2 separate regions of the Homo sapiens genome follow, and region 1 is linked to region 2. Evidence: promoter capture Hi-C in human tissues and cell types (Jung and others, 2019). All regions are on one chromosome and are shown on one strand. The core of a region is centred on a gene start or on the middle of the fragment in contact, and the rest is flanking DNA. Distances in the headings are between cores, read along the strand shown.

What was found. Contacts are between HindIII fragments. The study calls those that stand out against the background at their distance.
Region 1: a contact is called between a fragment that was not itself captured here and the fragment with the promoter of SPOCK2 in region 2, in 1 of the 25 tissues and cell types used here (dorsolateral prefrontal cortex).

What each region holds. Positions count from the first base shown.
Region 1 is chr10:71,823,875-71,828,433 of GRCh38, forward strand. It overlaps PSAP (prosaposin), which reads right to left. Exons shown (of 14, transcript NM_002778.4): 6 at 4,140-4,283; 7 at 1,963-2,019. Among named protein-coding and RNA genes, the nearest start is that of PSAP, 25 kb to the right of the region's middle. The HindIII fragment of the contact is 3,151 bases long and covers 1-2,826 here.
Region 2 is chr10:72,086,149-72,091,028 of GRCh38, forward strand. It overlaps SPOCK2 (SPARC (osteonectin), cwcv and kazal like domains proteoglycan 2), which reads right to left and starts at 2,403. Exons shown (of 11, transcript NM_001244950.2): 1 at 1,992-2,403. The coding sequence starts at 2,180. The HindIII fragment of the contact is 11,919 bases long and covers 1-4,880 here.

The DNA.
Region 1 (4,559 bases), core at 1-2,500, 260 kb before region 2:
CCCCGACACATACCTGATCCTGCTGTTGAACAAAAAAACAGGAAATCGGAGGTGAAAATAAGAGAAAGGAAAGGACACAACAGTTAAGAAAAATTAAAACAACAATCAAGCAGTTAACCAGGTGTAAGGATGTCCCAAGAGGTTCAGGGGAAATGCTCTTGCAATCAGATCTTAGCAACCTACCTTGTTCCTGCTATCTTGCGGACAAGGGGGCCCTGAAAGCTTTCCTGGCCCTGCAGGGATAGACCATTTGGGGGCTGTCCTGCTCTGTGTGCACCATCTCCAGGTCTTACACACTAAATCACACTCAAAACACTGTGTAGCAAGAGCCCCAGAAAATGCTTGATGAAGGGTCTCCATACTCAGGAGCCCACACTGGCCCCGGGCCCACAAGGCTTTCCCACAGGTTAGTGACCAGCAGCACCACAGAACAAGACACAGGGCTGCCCAAGTAAGGGGGGTAAGGGATCCCTGAGGGGTAAGGGATCCTAGGGCAATCTACTGCAGGTGGCCAAATGGCAGCCTGGAAGGCCAATTTAACAATGTATCCAAAGCCTCATGCTTCCATTCAGCAGTTCCAGCTTTAGTTCTCTATAATAAGGGGAAAGGCAGGGATATGCATATATGTATGCATTTGGCTATAAGGATATTCATCTTCCCAAAGGCAAACCTGAAAACAACCTAGATACATCCGGCCACCGGGGACCAATTATGTAAATTCTCTTCTATGTACACAGGTGATTATTCTGCAAGCATTTAGTCATTTGTACAAGAATATTCAATGGCCAACATATTTTTAGGCAAAAAATGCAAACTACAAAGTACAAGGTAGTATATATGAACCCGTTGATATATTCTGAAACTCCAAATGATTTTTGTGTGGGAAGTATTGTCCATATTTTCAACACATTTCTACACAGTATAACTTTTATAATGAGAAAAATATTTTAAGTTAGCTATGAGGAAGTACTTCACGAGATTAAATCCCGTCAATGCTTATCTTTACCTACTTCAGGTGCATGTCTCTGTAAGCTGCCTTTTAACTGTTTTTAGAACATGGTAGGGTGTGAGTAATAATCCCAAATAAACTACTCCTCCTCAGCTTGCTTGAGTGGTTACAGCAGGTCAGAGAGTCAATCTTTCAGGCTCCTTGGCCATAAGATCTGGCTGCAACTACTCAACTGTGCTGCTGTAGCACAAAACAGGCGTCGCTGTGTTCCAAAAAAATACCCTTTAAGTACAAAACATGATGGGCCAGTTTGCTGACCCCTGGATCAGAGAACAAACTCAAACGCTGGTATGTCAATCTCAAGTAGTCAGAAAGCATGACAGACAGGGAAAAGGTGCCCCCCACCCACTCAGCCCTGCCAATCAGATCTAAGGAGGCAGTGCCCGTTCCCAACGTGAGCAGGCCGCCCTGCTCTGCGTGGACTAGCGAGCTCATTTCCTGAATGGGTATTCTTGATTCTAATGAAGGAATGCCCCCTGCCACCTGAATGCATCCAAAGCCAGCTCAGGAGTTACCAGCTCAAGCAGCAGCTTCAGCGGACGCTGCTGCCATGCACGGGACAAACTCCGGGAGGCAGTATTCCCCCGACTCAGGTGGCAACACAGCCATTCTCAGGCCTGGCTTAGTTAGAGAGCACTTGACTTCTACAGATCCCAGGGTTAAAGCCAGACCTAGAAACCTGATGGCTGGCCTGAACGGGCAGAGGCAAACAAATTGCCAGGAAGCCACCAGGGCAGTCCTGGGATCAAGATGCTTCAGCCTGCCTCTCCCGTAACAGGGGAGGTACTGAGATTGCAAGTGGAGAGTCTCCTAGCCAGAGGGGTCGATTTAGCCCAATTCAGCACTCTAAGGTAAAAAAGGGAAACTAAACCATATAATTTTCAAAATTCCTAGAAATGACGAAACCTGAAAAACAAAGAAAAATGCTAACAAGGGGCCTCCGTGCCACCTACCATGTGCATCATCATCTGGATAGCAATTTCAGAATACTGGCTGATATAGTTCTTGCACTGAGGAGAGAGAAACAGATTGCTAAACAAATCACTGCAACAATGCACCAAAACCCAACCAACAAAAACCCCCCAGCATTTCCAACAGTGTCAACTGGTGACTATCAAGCAAGTTTCTAAAGTAGAATTTTATGAATGTCTGCTCTGGGCCAGCTTTAATAAGATGAAAATGACAATTTGGTTACTCTATCATTTATAGGAAATGTGTGCAAAAGACGTTTTGAAAATGTTTCTTAAGGGACCTTAAAGATTCCACCCTCCTGTCTCCTTTATCTTATAACCTCACGTGCCCCAGGATCACACAGCAACTATTCAGTGGCAATTTGGAGAGAAGGCAGCTAGGAGATACACTGCTTAGGAACTGGAGCTTACCTTTCAAAGCCATTTACACAATCTCAGATGGCATTATAAAGCTTAAATCCAGTAGAGTCAAGTTATAATGATTTTTAACTGCTTATTTTCAGACAATCTAGATACTTCCAGTAGACTCCACAGAATTGCTCCTTGTATTTGGGGAGCTTCTACAGAGAGAGGACCAAAGGTAACATGATACAGCCTCTCAGAGAGGGTTCAACTGGGAAACCTGTTTAAATGGTGTTATGCAAAGACACTTAAAATGAGGCTACAGGATTCCTAGGCTTTCAAAATGAATGAATGTTCACCTGATTAACATTCCTAACGGAAAGTCAGAGAGAAACCCTCAGCTGGGCGTGGTGGCTCACTCCTGTAATCCCAGCTACTTGGGAGGCTGAGAAGAGGATTGTTTGAGCCCAGGAGGTAAAGGCTGCAGTGAGCTATGATTGTGCCACCGCACTCCAGCCTGGGTGACAGAGCTAAACCCTGTCTCAAGAAAAAAAAAAAAATGGAGAAGGCCTCATCTCCTAGAGCCGGCCACTCCACCCAAAAAGCCTCGCTAGATCCCAAAGGACAGAGTAATTACAACCAGCTTCTCAGCTGCCAGTCTAGCAGGTTTCTTCAGTTGTCAGGTACTAAAAATGGCATTTTGGTTTTACACATCCACCTGAGTGTGATTAATAATCTTGGAATAGGGTCCCAGAATGAAACGATCTAAGTAAGGGGCCAAGAAAATGAGTTTCTGAGCCCACAGGACTAAGGGAGGCTTCCAGGTGAACCATGGTCAGCGACCATGCTTGCTGCAGGAGCACAGCTGGAATTCTCAGTGTCACATACATTAGCCAAGCTTTCAAAAATGGGGTAAATGGCCGGGCGCGGTGGCTCACGCCTGTAATCCCAGCACTTTGGGAGGCCGAGGCAGGCGGATCATGAGGTCAGGAGATCGAGACCATCCTGGCTAACACAGTGAAACCCCGTCTCCACTAAAAAATACAAAAATAATTAGCCGGGCATGGTGGCGGGCACTTGTAGTCCCAGCTACTCAGGAGGCTGAGGCAGGAGAATGGCGTGAACCCGGGAGGCGGAGCTTGCAGTGAGCCGAGATCGCGCCACTGCATTTCAGCCTGGGCGACAGAGCGAGACTCCGTCTCAAAAAAGAAAAAAAAAAAAGAAAAGAAAAGAAAAAAATGGGGTAAAGGCCGGGCGCAGAGACTCACGCCTGTAATCCTAGCACTTTGGGAGGCTGAAGCGGGCAGATCACTTGAGATCAGGAGTTTGAGACCAGCCTGACAAACACGGTGAAACCCCATCTCTACTAAAAATACAAAAATTAGCTGGGCGTGATTGCACACACCTGTAATCCCAGCTACTCGGGAGGCTAAGGCAGGAGAATCCCTGGAACCCATGAGGTAGAGGTTGCAGTGAGCTGAGATCACGCCACTGCACTCCAGCCTGGGCAACAGAGCAACACTCAGTCTCAAAAAAAAAAAAAAAAAATGGGGGCAAAAAGTATTTCTACAGTGTTCCTAATACACAGGGTGCCTGGCAGGAAACAAAATCTTCCCAGAAACAGTCTCCTACTTTTTGTTCCCAGTTTTGTTACATATCCAGATGCCATTAACCAAAATAGATTCAAGTCTGCACTACCTATTCAAGCTGCTTTCTGGGAAAAAAGAGAAGGATGTTGTCTGAACGCCCTACTCCAGCCTCCACAGCCCAACTCCCAGGCCCAGAACATCCCCAATGCACAAGGACACAAGGCTCACTATGTCGGCCATGCCAGGGCCCAGGCGGTCACACTCCTCCTTGACATGTTCCACCAAGGCCTGGACAAAGGTGGAGTTGGTCCGTACAGCAGTCTGGATGTCAGTCACCATCTGAATGCAGTCCTGGCAAACGTCCCCATTATCCTACAGAAGAGGCAGTTAGGTTTGCAACTTAAGAGGACTCAAATTCCTAGGAAAACGTCCTTATATACTCAGGGCTGCAGCATTAGGGGGCACTTGCTGACCAGTTCCTAAGATGCTTTACAGGCTCTCAAATTACTGATAGGCTTAAAATCGATTAAGTGTTCATTATAGTAACAGTATGGTATAAAAAGGGGGTTTAGTATAAATAAAAAGGTTGGCCAGGCACAGTGGCTCACACCTGTAATCCCAGCACTTTGGGAAGCCGAGGCAGGCAGA
Region 2 (4,880 bases), core at 1,153-3,652:
AAAAGCCTGAGGCTACCAAAATCAACACACACCTAAAGCTTTCCCATGAATCTTACATGTGCAAGTCCTGAAGACTTTCAAATCTAGTGCCTTTCTTCTGATGAGCATGAGAGGAAGGGGGAAGTGGTTGGCACCAATACAGAGAGACAGGTGGGTAGCCCAGTGCCATGGGGTCAAGCAGTAAGTCATTTATTCTCACCCACGGAGCTGGCTATTGGAAGCAGGTGGAAGAAGGGAGGTGGGGAGGAATCTTTTATTTTAAACCTTTCCTGTTCTGATTAAGCATTTCTTTTCCCTCTGACCTTCACTGGTCCCATTTTGGCAGATCAAACAGCCAGCGAGTCGGAGGGAGGCCTAGGCCAGTGACACATGGATTCCGGATGGGCCGGCCTGCTGCCGCCCCCTCGCTGCTGTGGCCGGGCTGCTGCCCAGGAAGCGGCAGGAGACTGCGGCTCATCTGCGCTGGGCCTGCAGGTGCTTCGGGAAGGCCTCGCGGGGCTCCAGGCTCCTGCGGCTGGACAGGTCGCATGTGGGGCGAAGGCGGAGATCAGCAGCCCATCGCGGGGCCCGGCCACTCAGCCTGGAGACCTGGCTGCCCGTGGTTCCTGCTGTCCTCTGTGAATTACAACCTGCCAGTTTGACTTTGGGGAGAAACAGTCACTTGTCTGACGGTAACAAAAAGATCCAAATCTCTGCCTCTTCCCATCACTTGGCTGGATAGCCTATGAAGCATGTGTGTTTTAAACAAATTTCCAAGGAACTTGTGGATGCACGCAGTTTAAGGAGAAAACGGGAGAGGTCATGGTGTGGCCTGCGTTGTACTGGGTGGGTCGGACGAGGGAACCTGGGGAAGGAGGAGTAAGGGCCAGGGTCCTAGAAGAGGTTTTCTGGGGTCAGGGCCGCGGTGAGCACCAGGTCGCCAGGAGCAGCCGGCGTCGCCTCTGGCGCATCCGGGCCCATCCCCCACAGCACCCCCAACGATCTCGGGGTCCAGCCACACCCTCCGCCCGCCCTGCCTCACCCCTGCTTCCCCAGCCCCCAACCCGGCCCGGCCGAGAGGAAGGAGCCAGCCCCGCCGGGCCGCCGCCTGCGACTTCCCCTCTGATCCACAGGTGCCGGTAAACAAAAGTGCCGCAGCTACCCCCCCGCCCCCACCCCGCGGAGTTCGGCCCAAGGTTACGCCGGGGTTCGGGCGGCGCCCGCCGGGGGCCCCCAAACCCAGCTTCTGGACTCTCCCCGGCTTCTCAAGCCCACCGGGCCGGGAGCCTTCCTCTGGCTCCGAGCTGCTCCCCTCGCTCCAGGCTGGATTCCCCCCTGAAATGTTGGTCCGGGAAAACCAGCCTGGGTCCTCGCGCGCCCTTCTGCACGGGGACCCCAGCCCACCCCCGTACGGACACGCCTTCCACCATCTCGCCTAGAAGGCTGCTGGGACCCCAGACCCAGAGCCCCGGTCACACTCCCGTCCCATGCTGTCCCCCTCCCGCAAAGCCCACGGTGGGAACAGAGGGCACCGCGCGAGCCGATGCCACCCTCACTGCCGGCCCCACCCAGACCTGCCGGTGCTGCAGTGCCCCGTATGTGCAGCCTGCAGCATCCCAGCGGCTGGGGCAGGCCCGGGGGCGGCTCGCACAACGCAGCTGGGGACCGGGTCGGGGTCCAGCGGCAGCCGGGGTCCGGGTCCCCCCGGCCCCGCACCCCTTCCCACTCCCGGCCCGCAGGGGAGACCCCGGAGCGCGCGACCCCGGAGCGTCGGGCAGGTGTGGAGCTGGGGGTCCCGGGGCTGGGGGGTCCCAGGGCCGCCGGCCCGGGCCGCAGGGACAGGGGAGGGGCGCTGGGCTGTGACCCCCAGTACTGTTTACTTTCCGTGTAATTAGCCGGCCAGGCTGCGGAGCCTCGGGCTGCGACGTGCGGCGGCCGCTCCCGCAGACCCCGGAGCTCAATCCCCGAACCCGCAACCCCGGGTCTCTGCCTTGGCAGCCCTGCGGACTCACGTCTCGGAAGCGGTTCCAGTGCTTGATCTTGCCGCTGTACTGCGAGATGGACGACAGCCATTGCTCGTCCTCCATGAAATTGCCGGGGGTCTCGCCCTCCTTGAGCCCCTTGGCGTCGCCTTCGGCCAGGGCTGCCGCGGCCAGGAGCAGCAGCGGCAGCACCAGCCGCCCGCAGCCCGGGGCGCGCATCGTGGTCTGGGTTCGACCTGGGGGGGTCTTGACTTCTGCAGTATTTTAATGTCCTTCCTCCCACCCCGCTGCTGGCGAAGCGCACGCGGCTGTCCTCAGCTCTCCTCCCGCGGTCTGCCTCCGGTGACTGGCGGAGAGTGGGTCGCGGCTGAAATGTGACCTGGTTAGGAGATGCACTTGTCTGAAAAAGCCCAGCACTGGACGCGGAGAGGGAGAGAGAATCAGAGAGGCTGCGCCAGCAGGGGCTGTAACTGTAGCATCAGCATCACGTTTGACATCATCATACCTGGTTTAAAAAAAAAAAAAAAAAAGGAGTGGGTAGATTTCAAAGCGAAGCGCTCCCTCGATGAGAGCGCCAAACGCCAGCCAGCCGCAGCGGGGCCCAGCCCCGCCTGGCACACAGGGAGTTGCAGACCAAGAAATCCAGAATCCCGAAATGTCCCTGAGCTCCCTCAAAGGATGGAGAGCAAGAAGGGCCCCAGGATCTCCCCGGGGAAGATGGGATGGGGGAGAGGGCACAAAACTCTCCGGTTACAAAGCCAGCCAGGCTCAGGTGTCGGAAAGGGAATTTGGCCAGACACTGTTTTTCTCCCCTTGCCTCCCACCCAGAGGGGCCTGCGCCACAGCCCTGACAGCTGGCTTCCTGCGAGTTATGGCTCTACCGTAATGGGTGGCTTCGTTAAGACAAAAGCCGTATAACAACTGGCTGCTCAGAACCATTGCTCCCCAGCGGCACCGCGTTGCGCAAGGCAAGGCCTGAGCACTGAGTGGCTGGTGAAACAGAGGCAGATGTCCTCCTCCCCAGGCAGCTGTTTAGGGGCTGTCACCCGTTTTGTCAGCTCTTCCCAGGACAACCCTAAAAGGCAAATGTCTGACCATTTCATCTGCCTTGGAGGCTGCAAATTTGGAAAAGGCATATTTGCTTATGGTTTTTTGACTTCAAGTTAGTTTGAATAAGCCACTGGGGAAGCCGGGGAGTGGGGGGCTGGGGTGGGGTGCTGGTTTTGTTTGAGGTGTTTCGGGTTTTGTTGAAACTGCGACCCTCCTTATTGGCTGTAGATTTAAATGTTGACATACCAGCGGGGAAGGCTGGAGGCTGGCCACAGTCCCAAGAGCACAGCAGAAATGGGGACAGGTTTACATTACAAATACATTAAAGAGGAAACATCATCTGATGGGACAAAACCTAGTGAACTTTTGGGACCCAAGCCCTAGATTGTGTTTTTATAAAAAGACTTAGCTGCTGTGATCTAAAAATAAAATAAAAATTTAAAATGCTTTAAAAAACATAATCTTAATCAGTAGGAAAAAACATAGCTTACAAGGTTCCTTGTCACCCTGAATCTGGCCTATCTGGGAACTCTGAATGCCTCAGTGGCTCAGGCCGGAGTCTCGTTGGGAAAACAGAAAACAATAGCTCCCTTTCCATGTTTTCTTGTTTCCTTTGCTGTTGGATTTAGTGGTGGTGCTGCAGTGAGGCCCTGGCCATTGACGTCTTCATCTCACAGTAATAAAGCATTCTTCCTGGGTGTGTCCTGGCGCTGTACAGTGAGAGAGCACGGCTTGCTGTCGTGGAGACTAGAGGACAGAATCCCACTTACTGGCTGGATTCTTGAGCAATTACCTATTTTCTATCTAAAACTAATGGTAATACCATCATTAAAACTGCTGTAAAGTGCAAGCAAAATTACATACTAAGTGGGCATAATGGGCATTTTTTTAAAAAGTTAGTCTTTCCTCTGGTTGGGAAGAGAAGGCTACGGTGTCCCATAGTTCTGAAGATTCATCAAAATTTGCCATCTTTTCCACCATCTCAATCCTACAATCCTAGTTTTTTGTTGTTTTTTTTTTTTTTGTTTCTGTTTTCGTTTTTAGCAAAGCTAGCTATATATCTCTAAGGCACTTAGGAGATAGGTACCAGATACCACAGCTCTCCCATTCCTGTGCTATCTTAGGGGCTTCCAGAGTTACCAAAGTTGCTGAATAAAGAGTTTGGAAAGGTGCTGTCAAGATGCCCATCAATATGACAATAGCTGTCTCCAGACTCTGAGGGTCAAAATGGCTCCCACAGTCCCAGGTAGCTTCTCCAGTGGGACTTGCCTTCTGTAGCACCTTCAAGCTGGGTCAATACTAGTCCTGTGTCGAAAGCTAATCAACAACATTCCAGTCCCATTAGTGAAGCCAATAGTAATGCTATTTAGGAAGAAGAACCCAAATTTCCAGATGACTGGTGTAAAACTTGTAGGAAATGGCCAATAGTTTTAGTTTACAAAGAAGAAAAAAAGGGCCAGGTGTGCTGACTCACACCTGTAATCCCAGCACTTTAGGAGGCCAAGAGGCAGGAGGATGGCTTGAGCCTAGGAGTTCCAGACCATCGTGGGCAACATAGCGAGACCCTATCTCTATACAAAATTTAAAAAATGAGCCACGTTGCACATGCCTGTGGTCCCAGCTACTCGGAGGCTGAGGTGAGAGGACTGCTTGAGCCTCGGAATTAAGGCTACACTGGGCTAGCATCGTGCCACTGCACTCCAGCTGGAGAAACAGAGCGAGACTCTTTCTCAAAAGAAAACAGAAAAGAAGAAAAAGAAAAGGTTTTTCAATTTTTTTTTTTTTTTTTTTTGAGATGGAGTCTCACTCTGTCGCCCAGGCTGGAGAGCAGTGGTGCGATCTCGGCTCATTGCAACCTCCGCCTCCCAA